Linked DNA regions of Homo sapiens: region 1 is linked to region 2. Evidence: promoter capture Hi-C in 16 types of primary human blood cells and fetal thymus (Javierre and others, 2016). All regions are on one chromosome and are shown on one strand. Each heading gives the region's core, a stretch centred on a gene start or on the middle of the fragment in contact. The rest is flanking DNA. Distances are from core to core; before and after follow the strand shown.

The links. Contacts are between HindIII fragments. The CHiCAGO score rates a contact against its expected background, and 5 or more counts as called.
Region 1: a contact is called between a fragment that was not itself captured here and the fragment with the promoter of ADARB2 in region 2, in 2 of 17 cell types (total B cells and naive B cells). The highest score is 6.2, in total B cells.

Annotation. Positions count from the first base shown.
Region 1 is chr10:1,419,160-1,424,128 of GRCh38, reverse strand. The region is part of intron 1 of ADARB2 (adenosine deaminase RNA specific B2 (inactive)); the gene reads left to right. Among named protein-coding and RNA genes, the nearest start is that of ADARB2-AS1, 100 kb to the left of the region's middle. The HindIII fragment of the contact is 6,008 bases long and covers 1-4,969 here.
Region 2 is chr10:1,735,165-1,740,361 of GRCh38, reverse strand. ADARB2 (adenosine deaminase RNA specific B2 (inactive)) reads left to right here and starts at 2,837. Exons shown (of 10, transcript NM_018702.4): 1 at 2,837-3,311. The coding sequence starts at 3,212. RefSeq lists a silencer at 2,888-2,947 and an enhancer at 2,909-3,505. The HindIII fragment of the contact is 1,175 bases long and covers 1,947-3,121 here.

The DNA of each region.
Region 1 (4,969 bases), core at 1,280-3,779, 320 kb after region 2:
ACCCACTGCATATGTGTTGGACCTTCTGCATACACAGTGGACCTACTGCATACATAGTGGTCCCACTGCATACATAGTAGACCTACTGCATATGTGTTGGACCTACTGCATACATAGTAGACCTACTGCATACATAATGGTCATACTGCATACATAGTGGTCCTACTGCATACATAGTGGATCTACTGCATACATGGTGGACCTACTGCATACACAGTGATCTTACTGCATACATAGTGGACCTACTGCATACATAGTGGTCTTACTGCATACATAGTGGTCCTGCTGCATACGTAGTGGATTTACTGTATACATAGTGATCTTACTGCATGCATAGTGGACCTACTGCATACACAGTGGTCTTACTGCATACATAGTGGACCTACTGCATACACAGTGATCTTACTGCATACATAGTGGACCTACTGCATACACAGTGGTCTTACTGCATACATAGTGGACCTACTGCATACACAGTGATCTTACTGCATACATAGTGGACCTACTGCATACACAGTGATCTTACTGCATACATAGTGGACCTACTGCATACACAGTGGCATGGAACTCACTAGGCCCTAGGAAGGTAGCAAAGACAACTAGGCCTAGGAAGAGTAGTCCCTGCCTCCCCTAGAACCTTTGAGTCCCCCTAGCACCATGAACACGCAGCAGCCACACTGCCAGGACCAAGCAGTGCTGGGCAAGGTGGCTGCAGGCTCAAGGCCGGGTGCTCAGGAGCCAGGAGGCCGGAGGGGTTTCTAGGAGGCTTGCAGAATCCCTCAGTGAGAACAGGGGAGTTGAGCTGAGTTTTAAGGAATAAACAGGACTCAGATTAGAGGGGAAAAGAAGGACAGTGATTTCAGGAAGGGAGGGGGCCAAGGGTGTAAGCAATGGCGTGAAGCTGGGACAAGGGCCCGGGCCAGGACTCCAGCTTAGCGAGGGCTGGGAAGGCGGTGGCAAAGGTGGGAGCTGAGCTGGAACCCAATGGCCATGGCCACCTGTGGAGACTCGGGGACTCGGAGCAGAGAGACTGCTGGCCAAGGGTCCCCTTCAGTGATGTAAGCTCCAGGAGAAATGCACAAGGCAAATACCTCTCTGAGTCTCCATAAAATGGGAACACAGGCTCACAGAACATCTAGCTGCAGGGCTCTCGGCCATAAGAACCAGACAGGTGGGTGCCACTGCTCCCAGGATCCAAGCCATTGTTTCTAGGGAGACTCGGTGGGCTCCATCTGCAAAATGGAGTGGAGAGTGATGGGGTAGACCCCAGGCGGAGTTTGCGTGTGGCCATAGGAGGTACGCTAATGCCCTTCATACCTGGGTGCCGCAGGCCGAAAGCCCAGTGGATCCTTACAGTCTGCACAGTGTATACAGCCTATGCTTGGTGACACATTGACAGATGGGTGGTCATTGTTACAGCAATTTATCAGAATTCACTGGTCAGCCTTACCCAAATAACTGAGGCACTGTGTCAATTTTGCACAGATGTGTAGGTATCCATGGTTTCCAGAGTAGATGGCTCCCAGGTAAGGGACATGTGACCTGCAGGCTGGGGTCACCAAGGCCATTGTGACCTACGGGCTCCTCTCCCTGCCCCAAGACCAGTGCCGTCAGCTCAGCCACAGGGCACTGCCTCTCACTGTGCCTTCCCCTCTGGTGGAGTGTCCAGGTGGGTTGAGGTCCACCTGTGCCCTCACCTGCAGCCCCGGTCTCCAAAGCGTGAGCCGCTGGTCTGGCCTGAAAGTGTTGACAGTGCCTCCCTCTCACTCCCGAGTCCTTATTCCACCCTCGGACAGCTGTCTCTGTAAATAAATTTACCGAATCAGAGCACTGAAAACTCCTGACCTTATATTAAGTCTTCCAGGATTTATCAGAAAAGCATAAAGCTGTGAAATATCCTATGTGGCCTCATGGATTCCATATATTTTGAATCTTTCCTTTGATGTACCTTGACGTCCCCGTTCTATTCCTCTTGCCAACCTTGGCTTAAAAACTCGTGGAAGTTAAGAGCCAAGTCTGTTGCCAGGGATATGTCCATGGCTTTGATGGGGGATGTTGCCCATTGTTGGGCCTTTTGGTGGGGGCTTCCCTAACTCACAGCAGCTTTCAGATGCAGGCACCTCAAGCCTGCCACTCTGCCACTAGAGTAGGTACCTGGGGCTGCTTCTCCTCTGTATTCTCTTCAAATAACCTGAGATGGAAATAGCACATGCAATGGGTACATAGCTCTTCCTCAGCAGACCCATCAAGGAACAAATACAATCATCCAAAATGTGCTTCCTTCTCCCTGTTTCAGTCTAGGAGCTCTCCGAGTGTTCTAACTGGATTTAGATTAGACCACCTCCCTGTCAACATGTTCCCTGCCCTGGGGTTCACTTTAGGAGGCAATGGGGTGAATCTTACAATGGAAAGGACAAAACAAACAGTCAACACTAACAGCGTGGACTCTCCTGACTTCCACAACAGCAGCCCCATCTGAGCATCGTGAGTCTTAACTCTCAGCATGTGCATTTTATAAAGGCAGGATTTTTGTCCACTTTGTTCACTGCTATAGTCCCAGGGCCCAGGATAGTGTCTGGCCCACAGTAGGTATGAATAAACATTTATTCAATGTGAATAAGACTCTGTAATGAAAGAGAATCTAGAGAAGAATAAGTTCAAATTGCTCCCTGACCCCCAACCTCCCACTGCTTTTAGGAGTAAGCCCATTGTTACCCAAAAAGATTTAGTGACTTCTGTGAAATCGCAAGAAGCCAGCCTGGAACCTGACCCTGAGACACTGAGACCCTTTAATCTCCTCACAGCTGAGCGTGGGTGGGGTTAGGTCCTGCAGATCCTGACCAGCCACCTGTCCCACAAACCAAGCAGCAGACAAACACTATGGAACCGACGGGCAGGTGCACAGGCTGTGCTTTGACTGTAACGCTCCAGTGCAGAGGGCCCCTTTGGTCCGGGTTAATCAAGGCAGGTCTGAAGGAGCCCCCGCCCTCCTCCAGCCGGTGCCCCCACCATCCTGGGGACCTGACTCACATCAGTGCTCTGATCAGAGGTGAAGGGCGGGAGAGCTTCGAGCTCCCCCTGGAGGCGAGTGTTGCACAAACACACTAGATGGAGAGCAGTGGAGGTGTAACACCACCCTGTGAGAGCAGAGAGAGGAAGGAGAACCGAGCGGCGCAGGGCAGGCAGGAACATTTCGCTTTCATTGGGAAGTGTCCGTCTTCTCTACTTGCCGGTTTGCTCCGGGGTGTGTGCAATGCAAGCTCCTTTGGAAGCATGCCTTACAAGACATAGCACTGCTTCTTTCAGGACGGGGCTCTAATTTGTGGCTAGCCCTGGGCGGGCGTTAATCAATGTGGTCCTCGAGAATTACATCTTCTCCTGCTTCTGTGCCCTGGGTGCAGAGCCTGTGTTCTCAGCGGCAGGCAGCGGCTCCCTCTCTGTCAGCGCTGTGCTCACTCGCTCTCTGTTTCTCAGCCGAGCTATTTCCTTTCCTCTGCCTTTTTTTTTTTTTTTTTTCCCTCTTTCTGGAAGATGAGGACCTGCCATCATTTATCAAGGATTTGATTCTTCATCATGAAAAACCATGGTCCTGAGTCCAGCTTCTATTTGGTAGATAGAGACAGATCAGCTTCAACTCTAAATTTTATAAACCTCTTATAATAAAATCCCTCGGATGTGAATGTGCTGTCTCAATAATTAGATGAATACAGCCAACCACTGGTTACCAGCATGATGAAGGATCTGATCATATTATTTTCCGTGGCTGCGCTGGCCTGACAATCCCCCACCACATATCTGTCTGTGCTACTCTTTGTCAGCCTTACACGTAGCTGTCCATGTAAAAATACTTACAAAGTAACTGCTCAAACATGAAAATCACAAGGCAAGAGCTCATTAAACAAAGAAACGGCATGAGCTGTGCTGTGTAGTAGATTAGAACTTTAAATATTTCCTGCTAGCAGGTAAGTTATGAGGCCTTTAAATATGTATTATTATTCACATTTAATCATGCACCGAATGTTCCTGCTTAATTGCTAAATGTTTTCTCTTGTGCTTAAATTTCATGCCACAGATTATTAAAAATTGACTTTACAATATTTATTTTACTTATCTTCTCAAGCCAGACTGGGCATAGCTGATAGATTTGGTAAATTATTAATTTTTAAAGGCAATTTGTGCTACATTTTACACTCGGATGATGTCCAGAGAGACTCTGATTTCTAGTCCAAAACTTACAGAACTGAATCACTTTGATTCATCTTTTATCTAAAGACTCTTAAAACACATATGCAGAGATGTGAGAGCTAACGAATCCCTCCGATGTGATGTGAAAAGCTAACAAGCGCTTAGTTAACATTTAGATTCATGTGATGAAGGAGGAAAACTATCATTTCCAGTAGGTTATCTGAGCAATAACCTTGGACGATATAATTCATTCTGTTATATAACAAGAACTGCTTAGAGACATCATGAGACTTTAATAAAACCCACAAACATCTCTATATCAGGCTTAATTTACTGCAGCACCAACCATCTGGGCTTACCGTCCCTCTGGGTACCGGTTCCGCCCAGTGAGGCTGTGCCCTCCATAAAGTGGCCCGTGGTTTTGCTATAACTCGGTTTACATAGGGGAGCATATGCATGAGCCAAGATAAACTTCTCATATGGATTCTGCTGGATTTTTTTAAAGTGTTTGATAGTAAGTTTCCACTGTCCATACATTAAATTCTAAGCTAAAATTATATATTAAATTGGGAGTAGATTCTTAGACACCAAAAAGATAAAATGATCAATAAAATGAGGTCAGGAGTTCGAGACCAGCCTGATCAACATGGTGAAACCCCATCTCTACTAAAAAAATACAAAAATTAGACGGGCGTGGTGGCGGGTGCCTGTAATCCCAGCTACTTGGGAGGCTGAGGCAGGAGAATCACTTGAACCTGGGAGGTGGAGGTTGCAGTGAGCCAAG
Region 2 (5,197 bases), core at 1,588-4,087:
TATCACACAGGAGACCTGTAACATTGTAGGACTGATGAGAGCAACAGTGAGTTGGGGGAGCTTTAAGCAACTCCAACAAGAGGACCCTTTCTGGCCTTGATTGAGAAAACTCTTCCTCCTGGCACACACATGCCATTTGGGTGTGGGGACTCACTGCGGAGGCAGCACTGCCCCTTCTATCCAGCCAAGGGCTCCTTTCTATGCCTCACCCGTCTCCCCCCGACCCCTATAGGTTCATGCCGGGCTGCAGTTGGCTTTGTAGCTGCCTGTTCCTCCTTGCAACCTCTCTGCTGGTGCTTTGTTTTGTGGGAAGAGCAGGGACTGAGCATGAAGTAGCTGGGGACACCACAGCGACATCTCCTGATGGGCACCGGGCGAGATTGGCTCCTGCTCCTGAAGCCTCTTCCAACTGCTGCTCATCCCACCACGTTGCAAAGCTGCGCTGAGGCACTGTGGGAAACAGGCAGGAGGTGAGGAGGCTCATCGGGGAATGGCAGCTTACCAGCACTGCTCACTCGCAGCCCTGCTTGCAACAGCAGAGTGAGACGTGCTGGAAACCACGCTGGAGTTAACGCACTTGTCGCTGCGAGCCTCTTCTTTAAAGCCCCTCTGTGATGAGAAACAAAGGCTTTCTCGCCTAGCCGTCGCCCTAGCATCATCTATTATGCATCGTCTTATGCAAAATAAATAAAATACAGAAAACAGCAAGTATCTGTGAAAACAGCATTTTCATAAATTATACAAAAAAGAACCAATTGGAGGAACTTCAAGAAAAAGGTTTGCCAAAATTTCGATCGTAACTTTCAAATTAGGGTCTAAATGAAGTGTTCAAAGACAGTTTTCAGTTTTGTTTCCCCACTCCACCAACATCAGAAGAACATTTAACAGACACGTTACTTTCCGGCCACCATACCTGCCCTTGGAGTGAAACAAGGGTTCATGTATACGAGTCTCCCAGACAGCACGGTTGCTCCGTGTGATGATGGAGCTATTGGGGCCATTAATAAATGCTGACCACCTTGTGGGGGCTGTGTGTGTGTGTGAAGCTCTTCTGAAGCACCTTCCTTCGGTGACTCCACCCCCTGATGGGTTTTCTGCAGATACAGAAATAGGGCAACTCTGGATTAGTGCAGCACATTGTGTGAAGCTCAGAAGTTTCACAGGCAGAGTCCTAGAGCTGTGTTTCTCGATATAGTTTAAGCACTCAAATATCTCGGGTATTGCAGAGAGGAAGTGAGAGAGCTATGTGCCTTCTCAACCCTCGCTGGGAATTATCAGCAGAGCTGAGCTGTGCTGTCATGGGAACAGGGTTGTTGAAGCCAGCCCTGAAGAGGGATGTTGGTTTGATTGTGGTCCTCAGTCTGAGTTGGACTAGAAGGTTCAACATTCTAAAAGGAAAACGCAGAAGCCCTGTCTTTCTGAGGCTTGTCTGCAACATACGCTCATTCCTTCCAAATTATTTGCTGGAAAAAATTTAATAAATAATCATAGAGTAATTAACATGTTCCAGTTCCTGTCTATACTGGTTGATACTGATTCAACGAGTATGAATGAACTTATGAGGTGGGTGACGTTGTTATCCCCAGTTTACAGATGAGGAAACTGAGGCACGGTTTAACTTACCCGAGGTCATAGCAGTAGAGTTAAGATTTGAAATCAAATGTCTTACTCTCTCTCATCAATGAAAACTGAGCTACGATCTATCAGCTCAGCACATAACAACACAGGATCATCCTAATTATTTCCAATGTCCCCCAGAGTGATTCTTTTTTCTTATGATAAAAATTATCTGGAAATTTCTAGGCACATAAGCAGCTGAAAAGGTTGCATGTGAGGCAATGAATAGCAGAAATATTTGTGTGCCATTTTTATATCAACATGTTAATGTGTGCTAATGAATTTTAGAGTGGATTTTTTTAAAAACATGACTATTGTAATTAAAAGCTTATGTGATTTAAATACAAGATGCAATGATGATTACCAGATTCTATTCCTCTTTATATTTTACATAAGACTTCCAGGGTTCCATAAGTATAATCTTGAAACATAGGACATTCCTGGAAAAAAAAATTGCTTAAAACTATTTCAGTGTGCAATCCACCTCTTTGTAAATGTTACTTTCTTCCATCCAAATATTACATTTGGCAACAAAACTCTCCGCTGAGAGCTTTCTCTTCCTTTTGTGTCATTGTTCCCTAAATAAAGCAACACATGAAATTCCTGACGGCAAAAATCAGACTCAGATCCCAAAACCTCTGTCTTTATGCAAGATTTATCTTTTGCATTGGAAACGGCCAAGGAATATGAAGAGGGGAAAGAAGAGGCAAACAGACAAGCATGCAGGCTCTGAGGAATAAATGCCCCTCAGGACGCTGTCTCCTGGGGAATTGCAAACCTCAGTCCGTTTCTGAGGAAGTGCGGTCTCTGCATTTCTGAAAGAGGTATTTCCCCCCCTTGACACAAGGAGCATGGTAATGAATTGACTAGTTAAAAACTGTTGGTTGGAAAAACCCGTCCCTGTGTCTTTCTGAGCAGGGCGAGCTGAGCTGTCCGCGAGGCTGCGGCAGGAGGCCTCGTCCTCCCGGGCAGGGTCCCTCCTGGAGGCTCCCCCGGTCTCTCCCAGACGCACCCGCGCCGCGTCCTTGTTCCCCGGGAGCAGCCTCCCTCCAGCCGCCGGTCCTGGGAGCTTCACCGTCCAAACGGGAGCTGAGTTTGCAAGCGGCCAGGCGGCGGTGCGGCTGGTGCTGCTGCTGATGTCAGAGCCAGAAAGCAGTTGTGATTGGATCTAATTAGACGCTGCTGCAGCAAATAGACAAGCTCCCTGCGTGATTGGCTTCAAAGTGGCTGGTGCCAAACAACTAGCAGAGGCGCAAAAGTAGCCTCCCTGCGCTGGGAGCCCAGAGCAGGAGGCAGAGCCCGCGGGAAGCTCGGAGCACTCAGGACGCCGCGCGCCCTTCCCCGCCCTCCCTGACCAGGGAGCAGCTCGCTCCAGGCGCCCAGCCGAGGCCCCCAGCCCAGTGGGAGCAAGTCATAGAGAACAATTCGAGAGACAGAGAGACGGAGCGCGCTTTCCTGCTCAGTCCTGAAAAGTGAGCCGCTCCCGGGTTTGCAACCTCAAGCTTCGCAGCAGCGGCGGCGGCGGCTGCCGGGAAGGAGGCAGGTGCAGGTGCAGGAGGGAGGCGGCTCTGGGCTCCGCGCCTGGGTCTCGGCCATGGCCTCGGTCCTGGGGAGCGGCAGAGGGTCTGGAGGGCTGAGCAGTCAACTCAAATGCAAGTCCAAGAGGAGGAGGAGGCGGAGGTCCAAGCGGAAAGGTAAGGACCGCGTGGCGCGCCGGCCCCTGCCCCCCTTCACCCCCGGCTTCTCCACCCCGGCCTCTCATGGGGTCTCCGGGCTTGTCCGTTGTGAGCAGCTTCACTTTGGGGTGCTGGCGGGATGGCTGCTCCGTGCAGGGCGCTCGGGAGTTCAGATCCCGTGGAAATGTCTGGGGCCTCCTCTTGCCCAGAGGGGACAGTGAGCAGCCACGCTGCGACATGTTTGAGGGACCCGGACGAAGTGGGGCGAGGGCGGCGAGGAGCTCCCCGGGGACCCCGCGCGTCTCCGGGCCCCGCAGTCCCCAGTGGCCGGCCGGGCTGGCACTGCCTTCCACCCTCCGGAGGCCATCTCGTCTCCCAGTGCCAAAGGAATTACCCAAAAACGGGGGAACGAGCCCTCGCGCCAGCTACTCCCATCCAAACTGTCCCGGAGGAAGGGATAGGCGAAGCCCTGCGATCGCCTCTCCAAATTGGCTGGCAGTTTTTACTCAATGTGGTGCCCGTCGATTTGTAAACATTGGGTCGTAAAGAGAACACAGGGCTCGTCCTTGGAGAAATAAGCAGAAATGAATACAGGAAAACAGAAAGAAGCATCATATTTTGTTAGTGGTAGAAAAAAACCGCAAACCAGGAAAGCAGGAAAAGCAGCCGGCTGACAGCGGCCACTGACAAACTCAGCTGTGCCTTGTTACTGATATTCCTGGGGCTGGGCCGCGCTGAAGTTAGTCAATGCTACAGCAAGGGAGGGCTTTCACACTGGGGATTTTGCAAAATTAGCAATCGCTCCAATATGAGAGCAATGCCCCCAGTGCCATCGTAGCCTGTGTGCATGCCAGGAAGAATTAAAAGATTCTTCTCATGCCGACCCTTCTCTCCTAGAGGAACCTGTGTTATTGTCAGTTCCTAGTGAGCCTGCAGGAGAAAGTTCAGTTCTAATCATGATTTGAAATGTGCTGATTTTTTTTAAGTGAGGTAGAAGTATAAAGAACGGTTGGAAAAACACAGCTAGAATTGATCAGCTTTGCCAGTTGTTTGAAAGCAGGAGGCAACGTTAGGTGTGTTTGGGGTTGTCCATCTTTCCTGAAGAATTTTCATCTTTGCATTGGCCTAAGATAAGTTTCTACCAGACCGTTTCCTGTGTGCCCTCGAACCGTCACCAGGTCCTTTATTGCCTCTTCCAATAATAGAAATTATCCAGACAGTCAGCAGGCATAAATGTCAATAGCAAACAGTCATTCATTATGACCGAACGTCAGGACCACTGGGAGGGATTGGCCCCCACAACTTCCTCAAAAGGTTTTGGAGCCTTTGGTTTCAGAAGGGAGGTGATGTTGTGGTTCTCATTTACCTCTCAGCTGCTAAGTGTGCGCTTGCGATTCACTTTGTTGTTTGAAATTATCATTTTGAAACAGACCTGTTAGTGTCCTCCAAAGATAATGCCAACACAAAGTGGCATTGATATTGAGAAAGTCACCGGATTGAATAATGAATATGACTTTTAAAAGAGGAAAAAGGAAGCATCATCTTTACACTTGAAATGTTCACATTTCCCAATATTTTTTGATTAGTCTATTTAAATATTTAGAGTTGAAGAATGTGGAGTAATAGTTCGCAATAATGCATTTTATAAATATAAACAGGAGGAAAGTGTTGCCTTTCTCCAAATTCACTTGCCTTGCCAGGAAGCGTCAGTCATGCTAGCTTAGAAAGTATTCAATTTAGGGGGAAAAAGGAAATCTGGGGAAAGACTTCATTTGCTATAAACTTAACTTTAGCAATTCAAAATAAAACTCCTATAGCAAATATTTCCATACCTTGGTTATTTTGAATATGTCAAGTCCCTTAATTTTCATAGCCAAAAATTGAAGCGGGAAAGGGCATTCAGG